Regions from separate parts of the Homo sapiens genome. Here region 1 is linked to region 2. The links are contacts of gene promoters, found by promoter capture Hi-C in human tissues and cell types (Jung and others, 2019). All regions are on one chromosome and are shown on one strand. Each heading gives the region's core, a stretch centred on a gene start or on the middle of the fragment in contact. The rest is flanking DNA. Distances are from core to core; before and after follow the strand shown. Region 1 holds the start of LOC124906070 (a long non-coding RNA gene). Region 2 holds the start of PAX8 (paired box 8).

Evidence for each region. Contacts are between HindIII fragments. The study calls those that stand out against the background at their distance.
Region 1: a fragment that was not itself captured here is called in contact with the fragment with the promoter of PAX8 in region 2 in 2 of the 25 tissues and cell types used here (neural progenitor cells and spleen).

Annotation. Positions count from the first base shown.
Region 1 is chr2:113,357,005-113,363,889 of GRCh38, reverse strand. All of the region lies in intron 2 of LINC02966 (long intergenic non-protein coding RNA 2966), which reads right to left. LOC124906070 (a long non-coding RNA gene) reads left to right here and starts at 4,246. Exons shown (of 3, transcript XR_007087202.1): 1 at 4,246-4,401; 2 at 6,164-6,214. The HindIII fragment of the contact is 7,963 bases long and covers 819-6,885 here.
Region 2 is chr2:113,277,671-113,283,779 of GRCh38, reverse strand. PAX8 (paired box 8) reads left to right here and starts at 4,859. Exons shown (of 12, transcript NM_003466.4): 1 at 4,859-4,949; 2 at 5,311-5,410. The coding sequence starts at 5,386. RefSeq lists a promoter at 4,257-5,386. The HindIII fragment of the contact is 12,536 bases long and covers 1-6,109 here.

The DNA.
Region 1 (6,885 bases), core at 3,551-6,050, 80 kb before region 2:
TCATCTGCTTGGTGCAGGGGAGACATTGAACATGTTCAGTCGCAGATTTGTCTGAAGAAAAAAGACCAAACGAAGTGCAGGGAGCAGGTGGGAGGGTGTATTCTGCTTTTCAGAAATCATGTGTCCTCAGAGGATGCACCTTCCAAAGCCCTTACCATTCGGGCGGCCAGCAGCAATGGCACCCGCCATCTTGGGGACACGAGCTGCCCGTCTGGTTTGTCCTCTGCGCCTCTGCATGGAGTGGGATGCAGGCCAGAGAAACTGCTCTGTAGACAGGTCAGCAGAGGGAGTGGATCATGACAGGAGCTGGGAGATTGGCTTCTCATTTGGGCCCTGCAGCTGACCGTGTCACACTGTATGACAAAGAACATCACCCTTCTGCCCAAGGGCCTCCGTTTGAAATTAGGATCTTGGCCCAGATCAGTGGTTCTCAAACTTGGATGTGCATCAGGACCATCTGGAGGGCTTGGTAAAACACAGCTGCCCCCACTCCGCCACCACCAGAATTTCACACTCAGCAGGTCGGAAGTGGGGCCTGAGACCGATTCTAACAAATTCCCAAATGGGGCTCATGCTTCTGACCCAGGGACCACACTTTGAGAACCACTGGCCTAAATAATGACTACAGCTACTTCCAGCTGTGAGATTTTAGAATTTTGTTTCGAAGAAGCAGTGTAATACAGGAAGAAGAAATTAAGAAATAAAGGAGGATTTTAGAAGACACATGAGGCCTGGTGCAGTGGCTCACACCTGTAATCCCAGCACTTTGGGAGGTCAGGTGGGAGGATGGTTTGATGCCAGGAGTTTGACACCAGCCTGGGCAACATGGCGAGATTTCATCTCTACAATAAAACTTTTTAAGAAATTGCCAGGTGTTGTGGCATGCACTTGTAGTCTTAGCTACTCAAGGCTGAGGTGGGAGAATCTCTTGAGCCTAGGAGTTCTAGGTTACAGAGAGCTATGATCACAACACTGCACTCCAGCCTGGGCAACACAGTGAGACCCTGTCCCTAAAAGAAGAAGGAGGAGGAGCAGGAGGAGCAGGAGAAGTAGGAGGAGAAGAGGAGAAATTTCTGAACAGTCCCCTCAAGCAACAAGCAGGTACCTGGGCATTGCCCAGTCCTGGCAGAAATGGGGCTGTGGGCCTAGCAGGACTACTCTCTCCTTTTTTCTGCTCTTAGGATTTCTTTTCATTTGGTTTTCATTGGCTTCTACATCTGAGACCATATTTCACAGCAGCTGCTGGAGTCTGTAATGAAATACTTTATGGGAAAGCACTTTGAAAATATGAAGGAAAAGGCAGGGGGGTTATTTTGAACGTCTGTTTATATTTTCTGTTTTACCTCCATCAAAAAAGCAAATGATAGTTGCAATAAAAGACAGAGTTGTAGTTGCTGGGAGAGAGTTGAATGGGATGGAACTGAAATTACTTGAATTAAATAAGAGTCTCATTATCCCCATGCATAGGAACCAAATACTGAATAGATGTGCAGGGAAGCCTGGGTGGCCCCAGAAATGAAGGAGACATGCTTTCCCCTAGAACTGGGGAGGAGACATGCTCTCCCCTAGAACTGGGGAGGAGACATGTTTTCCTCTAGAACTGGGGAGGTGACAGGCCGAGGTGCCACAGGGCACAGGCGTGCAAGGGCCGTGGACATGGTGTTCATTTTCAGAGGATCTGGGAGCCACTTGCAGGCGAGTTCTTTCATACCTTGGGCCTTGAACTCTTGTGGGCCAAAATGCCTTGAGATCTGTGGTCAGAACATTCATTCAGTGCCCAGGGCCCAGAATGAGAGTTCAAGCTCCCTGACCCCTGGTCAGTGTCATTTCCACTGTCTCAGTGTCTTTCATGGTCTTGAGGTTTCTCACCTGCAAGTACAGCAGAGCTCCCTTAGACTTGGATCTGACCCCTTTTTATTTGGGGTTTTCTTTCTATGCAGGTTCAGCTGCTCCTTCTAGACACCTACACCTGCCTCTTATCCCAACACACAGAAGCATATAGATCTGCAGGGACCAACCAAAAAGCAAACTAAGCAGTTTGCTCATGAACAATATCACCTTACATGGGACCTCCGGGATCCCTGCCCCAGGCCCTGTGCCTCCACGGGCTCTGCTCTGGCCTCCTCAGCCATGACTCTTCCAATGAGGAGAAGCACCTGGGGGACCAAGGGGATAAGCCCACCTGCAGCCCCTCCTCACATAGCCCATGCTCCAGTACACACGGCTAACCTGGGGGTAGTCAGGGGGTGGTCAAAGGGTGGATATTTTGGGGGAGGCCTTTGAAGGGTCAAGATGTCCACCCATCTGTGCACAAGCCCCTCAGGATTCAGACAAGAACTGGGAATGGGGTCAAGGGAGGGCTCAGGCATTCATTTGCACTCTTGCATGGGTCCTGCCAGCACTCAGACCTGCCTATAAAACTCAGTTAAGTGCCAATTTTCCAGAGGAATTGCATTCTATTTGTATAGGGAAAGAGGCTAAGGAGACACAGAGCAAGCCAGCATCCTGGCAGTCTTCAGGCCTGTGCCAGGTCTGGCTGGAAAAGCCCAGGCAGACAGTTGCATGGCCTGCAGAGCCCAGAGGCCCCACTGTGCTGGTGGAGTTGTCCAGCGTCACACAAGAGCCCTTCTCAGAGGGGTCAGCCATGCTCTTCACCAAAGTTGTTTCAGGCCAAGATCCCAGCTACTCTTGAGAACACCTGTAAGTGGATGGTCGGCCAGGGTGGCGCCAGGCAGCCCAGCCTCAACAAACCCATGACCTTCTCCTGACCTCTGCATAGGGCCAGGTTGGGCAAAAGCCCCAGGTTCAGCCACTGGGCAATGTGGCATGGAAACACATTTGAGGCACCAAAGACCTGTTTTCCATGGGCATCACCAGAATTGAAACAGACTGGAACACTGAACTATTACCAAGAAGACAAATAGAAGTCTTAGATTTAACGCCCCAAAATCAGTTGAACAAATACCAAATAAAAGATACCCTAATTCACCAGAGCATTAAAACCTCAGTGTGTCAGGAAACCATAGCTTGTATAAGCCAATTCTCTGCTAAAACAAAAACAAAAATCAAATGCAAACTTAGACTGCATTCATAGAAGTATAGGGTTCCAAATAAAGGAATTAGAAATGGCCCAGGCCACATTTAATACACTGTGCTCTGTTGCGGTAACACATTTTTTAAACCACAATTACAAACCAAAATATTCTCTAATCCACAAATTAATTTGGCAAGGAGGTTGGAATGTAGGCTTTGGAGTATTTTGAAGAAATGGCTTTTTAGCCCAGAAAGAAGATAAACTGGGGAGATTTGAGAGCTACCTTCCAATAATTGATGGATCATATGAGAGATTGCTTGTTTCAATCTAAGTACTACAACAGGATTCTGAGAAGCACAACCCACAGAAATTGACACATACCCCACAGATAGAAATTGACACAACTTTTCTAGAGAACCACATGGCCCTCAATGTTAAGGCCATTAAGAATTCCCACATCCTTTGGCCAGGACTTCTACTGCTAGGAATTTATCTCAAAGAAGTAATCAGAATGTGGCAAAGATTTTCCTACAGTGATATTTATGGCAGTGTTGTTTATAATATTGAAAAATTAGAAACAGTCTAGGTATCCAAAACTAAGAATACCTTACACACATTGCAATATATCCATGCCACAGAAAATTTGGTGACCATTAAAAATATTTAATATGTTTTCAAAGACTTTAATGATATGAGAAATGTCAGAATGTCAGTGAAAAGAACAAGCTGTATACAAAATCTACAGTCAATGTGATTCCAATTTTGTAAAACCTATGCCTGCCCACACAAGCACAAATAGGAAGAAACATACCAAAATGCTAACAGTGCTCATCACTGCAAGTTATATTTATTGGGGATGCTTTCCAAATTATGTTTTCTATATTTTTCAAATTTTCTGCAATGCATGTGTCAACTTTATAATGAGAGAAAAGTACTTAGCATATTTGAAGAGCAGTTATATGCTGAATGAGCGGTAGATTCAGGGATGACTTGAAGCTGGAACTGCTCAAGAACAGCTTCCCAATGAGGTGTGACCTTCTCTCTGGGAGTGTCCAGGTCTGCACTGGGTGGGGGAGTTGAACAAGAGAGTGGCCAAGTGTGAGAAAGGTTGGGATGAAAAGGAAAATGACCTTTACTGAGCATCTGCTACAGACTGGTTTCTATGTTCCAAAGCTGAGATTAAAAATCAAAATAACTTCTGCAATGAACTAAAGCTGGTAAGTGTTGGAGCTGAGACCTGAATCCAGGACTTCCTGGCTCTGAAGCACAAATTTGAAGCAGCCTTCTTCACCTGCAGGAGCCAGGCCTGCATCAGTCATCTGTTTATAAGGCCAACAGCCTGATCACCTCTTGCAATCAACCAACAGGTAGGAAATCTTGCAATTGGTTACAAAAAATTGTCTACTGACAGATTTGTGTGGCCTTCAAGTAGAGACATCTCTTGGACAGGAATTGCTCAGGGAGTCACTGGACCACAGCTGGATTCTCAGAGTCCAGTGTTCCCTCATCACCACACTTCTTAAAGGCCAAGTGGCCTTACTTGTTATGTGGACCAAATCTCCAGCTGATCGACTCCTTTTTAAGCCTTTACGATGGAGTCCCTTCTATTCCAGAAGCTCAAAGCTACCTCCAGAGGAAAATAAGCCATCAGGGTTTAAGATAGCCTATACTGTCCCCTCACCTTTACTGTCTTCCCCACCTTAGCCATTTTGCTAAAGTGCCAAAGAGCACATGGCTCACCTCTCTGACCCAGACCACAATACTGAGTCAACCAAGGAAGTGACTCAAGGAACAGAGTGAATTGGGGATACCATTGAGGGCTCCAGACACCAAACCTGCAACGGTGATACATCTGTCTCCCACTAAGATTTTTGACTTCTAAAGGGTTACTTGAGTCAATGAGTTTTTATTTTCATGAGGGATCTTCAATGGGTCCCAGAAAAAAAACAAGTTATCTACATAATCATTCTTAGAACCTTCTGAGCACTGATGCATTCCTGAGCTGTCAGCTGCTGCTCCTCTCCCTCCCTCCCCACACCAGCTGCACACACACACACACACACACACACACACACACACACTCACCTTCCTGCTAAAGACTCTGAGCACCAAAAAATTTGAACTGTTCCTGGCTGTAGCCAACAGAGTATGGAAAGCAATTGTTTTCAGCAAAGTCTTGCCCAAATGTGGAAGATGAATGTTCTCAGTGGACAGGCCCAACACCAAGCTCCTAAGGAGCACCTTCCTACCTAAGGGAGGGAGATGTACAACCTGCATTGACAGACGCAGGGCCATCAGCTCTGAGGGCAAATGCCCCTTGCAGAACCTGTCAAGAAATAAAATTGTCTCCCATCTGAGAACTAGGGGTAGGGGTGAGGGACTTGAGGGAGAAGTATGTTTCTTGTTTTCTGATTTCCAGGGATTTTTAAACAGCCCTCAGTTTTTTTTTAAATAAGGGCTATATTATAGCTTTAAAAATAAGGGCTATATTTCCAAATCCTTCCTAAACTGATATATTTTCTAAGAAAAGGCAGTCTTTGAGCACCAACATATATTTAAGAGAGTCAGAAATGCCCGGCATGGGACACTTGGCTCCCATCCTTCATGAAACTATTTTCAGAGCATCTAAATATTTTCCCCGGACAACCCTAATAACCCACTGTGGGTCTCCAGCTATAGGACCTTGGGAAATTCATCTGACATCTCTGGATGTCACCCTCCTGCTCTATAAAATAAAGGTGTGATCATCAAGATGCCTCCCAGTTTTAAATTGTATGATTCAACTCAACTGTGAATTGGTGTAGACCAAGTGTTGGCAAACTACAGCTTGCTGGTCAAATCTGGGCCTTGCTAATTGTGTAAATAGCATGTTAATAGAACCCAGTCATGCTCATTCATAGGTACTGTCTATGGCTACTTTTGTACTACAATGGCAGAGTTGAGCATTTAGGGCAGTGTTGATCCACAAAGCCAGAAATATTTACTCTGATCTTTTACAGAAAATGTTTGCTCACTCCTGGTTTCAACCATTAGAAACTGAGAGCTTGAATTTGACAATGGGAAGCCAGGCGTTCTGTAGGGAGCTCACAGCAATATGTTCATAGGATGGGATTCTATTTATATTTTCAGCCTGTGCCACCTCTTGGGATCACACAGCAGGCAGCAAACTTATGGAACGTGGTAAGTAGAACTTTCTTGTCATTGTCCTAAAACTGCTGGTTGTAAGCTTCAGTGAGTGCCACCTTGGCAGGCAGGCTGTCTCCCTCTTGGTTCTCTCCACATCCTAGAGATTTCCATCATGCCCTGCTCACTCTGCCTTTTTTCAGATTTTACTGCTTTTTAAAAATCTGTCCTCAAACAGAAGCCTTTTCTTCCCCTTGAGTGTTTTAATTGCTCTTCTCTGGACCATGTCCAGGATCATTATGTCTTCACAAGAGCCTGTGACCAGACCTACACACTTTCAGGAGCAGACACTGTGGTTGCAAGCAAAGAGAAACATTTTGACTATGGAGCTCTGGGGTTGAGGGCTGGGCTTTGTGATCAGACCTGGGTTAGAATCCAGACTCTCACACCTTCTAGATATGTGACCTTTGTCAGTGACAGCATCTCTGCTACAGACCCTAAAGTGGTTGTGCATAATGAGTCAGGGAGATGACAAGACACGATGTTCAGTGCAGAATCTGAATATTTACTCATTCAGGTATACAGTTTGCTGACGGTGTTCTGTGTATGGACTCCCATCTTCAGAGAAGCCAGCTGCGATTTCAACTATACATATTTGTGTGTGTGTATATATAAATGTATGTATATATGTACATATATGTGTGTATATGTATAGTATATATGTGTGT
Region 2 (6,109 bases), core at 3,610-6,109:
TTGGCTGTCTGCTAGCTGGGTGGCCTTGCTCTCTACTTACCTTCCCTAGAATCCAGTTTCCTCATCTGCAAGATGGGTTGCCAAAAGGGTCTAGCTCATTTTTTCTAACTTAAAAAAAAAAAAAAAAAAAACTATGATTACTAGAGAAAAAAATTGAGCTGTGTACGTCAATCCTTTTATCTCCCTCTGTCACCTTCCTTTTTGTGTCCCCAGGAAGTTTTTTTTCCACCCATTTGTAAGTACCAGGGTCTCCTTCCAGAAGCCCAGGCAACTGCTGCCAAAGGCTGTGGGGTGGGCAAAGAGCCCAAGGGACAAGTGCCCAGGACACATCCCTACCCAAACCAACTGGACAAATGCCACCAGTGGTTTCTTCCAAACTGCCCTCGGCAGCCCAACCAGTGGCTCTTTTCCTTTCACCTGCCAGGACCTATATTTCTATTTCTGAGTTTTCAAAGCCTAGGGAGGTGGAGAACCTGGAATAATTAATGATTGATTTTCAGGCACTGCCACCAGGAGGCCCCAGGGCAGGCTGTCGGCCATTTCCTGAGTGCAGGGACAGGGTTGAAATCCCACGTGGCTTCGGCAGGATTGGGCAAGTCTGTGAGGGGAGAGGGTGGAGCGAAAACTGCCAGTGCCCTGAACACTTCTGCCCTCTGCAAAATGATGAAGTCGCTGCTGGAAGTTCTGCTGGGGTGCTGGCCTTCTGCCATTGACTCTCCCCTCTCTCTGGGTCAACGAATGTTAATTGCTGCCCTCACAGACACCCCTGCCCCACTGCTACCCTTGCACCCACGCCTGCACCCACAGGCACGGGCTCACTGGCCCTTTCCTCTCCAAGGCTCCTTTGGGAAAGGATTAAAGGAACCGACTTCCACAGCAAAACTTTAGGGACATTTTAACTTTGCCCTCTTTGGATGTATTCCTCTGCCTTTGTTGTCTAATAATAATTAACTTTTGTACAGAGGTGTAGTTTTCAAAGGGCCTTCACATTCATAATTTTATTCGTCCTCACAACAAAGCTACGAGGTGGGTCTGACCCTCCCCAGCCCCCCGTCTATATCCACATCATGCAGAAGGGGAAACTGAGGTTCGGGCAGAAGAAATCATCCCATTCTACACAATTAGGGCTGGAACACTCACCTCTGATGCAAAGTAGAGAGCTGCTGTTTTCTTCCTGAAGGGATGTACTTTAGTCCCAACAATGGTTCGTTACGTAGGGGAAGTGGCATGGTGGCAAGTAAGCCAGGAGGATTGTTGGGAGCAGTGGTCTTCCCTCGAGGCTGGTCTCTGGGCATTGTGCCCAGAGAAACCAGGGTACATAGGAGTAAGAGGAAGAGCTCATGGACCTACTGGAGTTCAAGGGTCTCAGTCACCTGAGCCAGCAGGTAGAATGACCCAAGTGTGCAAACAATCACCCACCCAATAGTCAGTTGAAACACGGCAGCTTATAAAAGACCCCCAAACCATCCCACTCCCACACTCTAATCAGCTAGGATGACCAATTCATCCTGATTTGCCCGGGAAAGTCCCAGTTTTAACTCGCATCTAGAAAACACTGTTGGTTTTCGTCCAGGGCAAACCAGGGCACTTTATTACCCTACCACCAGCCCAGTGCATTACAGCTGAGTCCAGAAAAGAAAGAACATCTTTTGAAGGCTCAGCAGATCAGCATAGAATTAAACAAATTGTGGGATATTATGCAAATTCAAAAACCACTGTAGTTAGGCAATTACCTAGGATTGTTGGAATGTTAAACCTGAAAGAATGTTCATTTCCACAAAGAAACGCTCAGATCTGCGGCCAGATCTCTTGCATTTTCAAAGGCAAGGCAGAGTTAGTCTCTCGTCTCTACTTCTGTATTTTGATATTGGCAATGAATTACATTTTCTCAAAAAAACACTGAGTTTAAAAAAATTATAACTAGTTGCCAGTTGATAATATTGCCACAAAAGCCTTATGGGCCTCAAGCCTGAGAAGAAAAGTTGGCAAATGAGGTATTCATTTTAAAAAGTGAGTTCTAAGGCCTGGCCAGGCACAGTGGCTCATGCCTGTGATCCCAGCACTTTGGGAGGCTGAGGCAGGCGGATCACTTGAGGTCTGGAGTTCGAGACCAGCCTGGCCAATGTGGTGAAACCCCGTCTCTACCAAAATATAAAAAATTAGTCAGGCATGATGATGCATACCTGTAGCCCCAGCTAGTCGGGAGGCTGAGGCAGGAGAATCACTTGAACCCAGGAGGTGGAGGTTGTAGTGAGCCGAGATCATGCCACCGCACTCCAGCCTGGGTGACAGAGTGAGACTAAGTCTAGAAGAAAAAAAAAAGAGTTCTAAAAGTCCCATTGAAAGTCTATTAGTCACAGTGCAAATTTATTTTAAAATTTCAAATATCATCATAGGAAGGCATATGATTTTTATTCTTAACTAAAAGCATCATGGATTTTAAGTTTGAAAAAATACTGTGATAATAGGTGATTTTAAAAATATATGTATTTCAAACCTTTCGTTTTGCAGAGGAGGAGACTGATGCCAAAGAGACAGAGTTAAAGCACCAGTTAATGACATTTCCTTGGCCTTGGTCTCAGAGAATTAGGAAGTACCAAGGAACCCAGGCCTGATTTCTGATTCTAATTAGAAGCAGGGTCAGTCCAGGAGGCCTGTGTTTATCTCTGCAGCAGAAGTTCACTGCATTCTCACTTCTTGCTCGTCCTAGATCTTCTCTGCTGAGTCTTCTGGTCACCTGCTATGTCACCTGCAGTCTGGAGAAGAGGTACTGTCAAGGTGTGGGGTGTGTTTTTCCCTGAGGAGTAACCTTGAACAGTGCACATTGTTTTTACCTTGAAATGAAATTTTAAAGATAAATTTATACATGGGACAGGAATGTTCTGATAACTTGCTGGATTTGTCCTCTAAGAAATTTTGCCCAAAAAGGGGATAGGAAAGGGAGAGGGTTCATTGCTTGGGCAGAAAAGATGTGCACAGGCAAGAATGATTGCATGAGAGTCAATGGTTATTGGTACGTATCAGAACCTTAGATTGGGTAGAATCTCTAAGGTTGTCAGAGCTGTTTGAAATGAGGGCGTATTAGATTCACCCTGGAGCATTGCCTCCCTGGTGGGAGGGAATCCTGGGTGGACAAAGAGAGTTTCTGCTGTGGCTGCCACACTCCACACCTCCCCTGCAGCAGGACACAATCCAGGGCAGCAAACTGGCCCATGGGGTCCGGAGGACCTATGCCAAGATCCATTTCCATCCCAACACCCTTGGATTGTCTCTCTCTGGGAGGGACTGCCAGAGAAGTTAGGGATCTGGAGCTTTGAAAACCACAGAGATATTTAAAATTACAATTTTAGAGAAAGATTTAAAATGATGAAGCACCAACTATTTTTGTTTACAGCCCCTCTTTGCAAATGTGGAGGAAACATGTAGGGATACACATCTTCTTCTCTCTTTTTTCACAAGATGATTCATTTCTCCTAAATTGAGAAATGAGAAAGACTGGGTGGAAGGAGGTTGTGGATTGACATGAAAGAGAAAACTTTTTTAATTCAGAAAAATAGTTCATGTGTTTTCACACACGTGTACATATGTGCATACACACACACACACACACACACACACACACATCCAATCCCCCTGAATATCCCAGTTTCCCCTGCACCTTCCTTGCCCCCCTCCCACTGGCTTCTTAGCCTCCTGTCCCAGAACAACCCCACCAGGCCTGCAGAGCCATCACTGAAAAGGGCATGGCTGTCCTCTAGACTGTAATCCTGAGTCCAGAGGTCTGGCCAAAGATTGGAGGAGCATCCAGGCCTTGACCCCCAGGCCTGCCAGTGTTCCAGGACATTTGCTCACTCATACCCACTCACAATCTTACGTGTACCCCGGTTCCCCGACTGAGAGAACTATGAGGAAGGAGGGGGCAGCTTTTGCCATCACTAAGGTAAAGAGGTGCCAGGCAGCTCTGCTCGGTCCCAGGGCTCACCAACCCTGCCATCATTCCCACCAGTGGACCCCTTCTTAACCACACCCAGGCCCCCATATTGCTGAGGCTATTGATTCCTACAGACCAGGCCAGAGGTCAGCTCAGTCCTGTTCCTTTCTAAGGCCTTTCCACACAGAGATGAAGTCTAGGCCCTCAATGCCCTTCCCCTGAACTCTTCTTCCAAGTTCAAAATCCTCAAGGAGCAAGAAAGAGGGCAGGTGGCTGCGTGTGTGTTCCAGAGGAGAGAGGCGAGGAGTTGCTGTGGAATGGGTTATGTGACAATTTTGTTAGCCTGACAATGCAAGGGTGTGAACGCTATCTGTGTAGAACAGAGGGAATGGCTTCAGGTGCTGCTCAGGATTCTTCCCTGGAAGAGGTCATAGCTGTGGTGAGAAGGTAATAGCATCTTGCCTACAGCCCCGAAAGCAGGCTCTACCTAAAGAATCAGGCATAAAACAGAAGTTCCCTCCTTCCTTTTACAAAAGAAAAGGCTGCTTCCTGGTGAGCAAACCAGGGGAGACAGGGGGCAAGGAGGGCATCCTACAGAGACCATCCCTCTCACTTCTGGTGGTCAGTGACCCAGGAGGACCCAGAGAACCTCATCCTCAGGCTCCTAGGCCTCTGTTCCCCACTCCTCCAATATTTCCAGGCCTGCTGAGTTAGGGCTCAGCTGCCTCCCTCTTCCCTCCGCTGGAAACAGAAGCTCCCAGCGAATGTTTCTAACTCCTGAGTCCACTCAGCCATGTCCCCCTTGCAAAATCCTCCCCTTCCCGCACCCCCCTGCACCCAGCCAGCCAATCCGCGGCCTACGAGCCTCGCCAGACCCATCTCCCAGGGCCTCAGCGGGATAAAACCGGTCGGTGATGCCGGGTGGATGGGAACAAACTTCAGAAGGAGGAGAGACACCGGGCCCAGGGCACCCTCGCGGGCGGACCCAAGCAGTGAGGGCCTGCAGCCGGCCGGCCAGGTATGTCACCCAGGGGTTAGCTGGAAGCTGGCTAGCAGTGAGGACGGGGGATGGAAGAAAGGAGAGGGTCCCAGGATGCCTGGCAGCCTTTTCCCTCCCAAGTTAAACGGGATAAGACTGGGACAGCGGAGGGAGTGGGCACGGAGGTTGGAGTCTGGAGCTTCTTCAGCGCACTCCCAATCCTTGATCCTCCCGGGAAGCCTGTTAGCTAGGCTAGGCTGAGGTTGGCCCTACTTCGCCTAAAAATCCTCCTACTCCTGGCAGACGATGCAGGTGTAAAGGATGAGGCCTGGGGAGGGGGCCTGAGGATGCAGGCATCGAATCTCATCGCATCTCATGCCCTTCTCCTGGGTTTGTGCAGGGCAGCGGCAGGCGCGGCCCGGACCTACGGGAGGAAGCCCCGAGCCCTCGGCGGGCTGCGAGCGACTCCCCGGCGATGCCTCACAACTCCATCAGATCTGGTAAGAACGCGGTGTGGTCAGGATCCCCGAGCCCCCGCGCCGCTGAGCGTCCGTGCGTGCGCTCGGGTGGTTGGATCTCGAGAGCGTCAGCACGGGATTCGCGGGACCCACCCGCGTGGGGACCCAGCTGGGGCGCCTGGGGCCTGGCCCTCCGCTGGAGCCGCCTCGCTGTTCTCGGGCACTGGGGTTCCACCCGGCCAGCTGAGCCGCCCTTGCCCGGTTTCGAGGGACCACATGGATCGGTGAGGGGATCTCTGTGGAGTTAGAGGGGGTTTCCTTTGAGCTCCATTCCCAGCCTTGCATGGCGCATTAGTGTGGACATTCTTCGTGCTCTGTCCCTGGGCTGCACCGGTGCTGGACTTGCCGTTTCCCCGTCCCCGACCTCTAAGTCCTCTTCCTCGGGTGCGCGCAGTCCTTCCCAGTGACTCCCCTGGCTGGACTGTGAGCTCCCCGCATCTCTCAAGCCAACGGCAATGGAGCCGGTGGTCCCGGGCCCGGGAGCCGGCAGCGCACTCAGGTGCTCTCCGACTCCTCCTGGCCCAGCACCGGGCAGGCCGGGCGCCGCGCGCGGGGCGTCCGGCTGGTGAGGACTAAGCCGCTCGCGGAGTCAAAACCCCCTCCCCACCTGCGCCCGGAAGCAGGGCCTTCAAACACACTCGAGCTCCCAGGCCGCGATGCCTGTTTTCCCCCTTCCCGGCC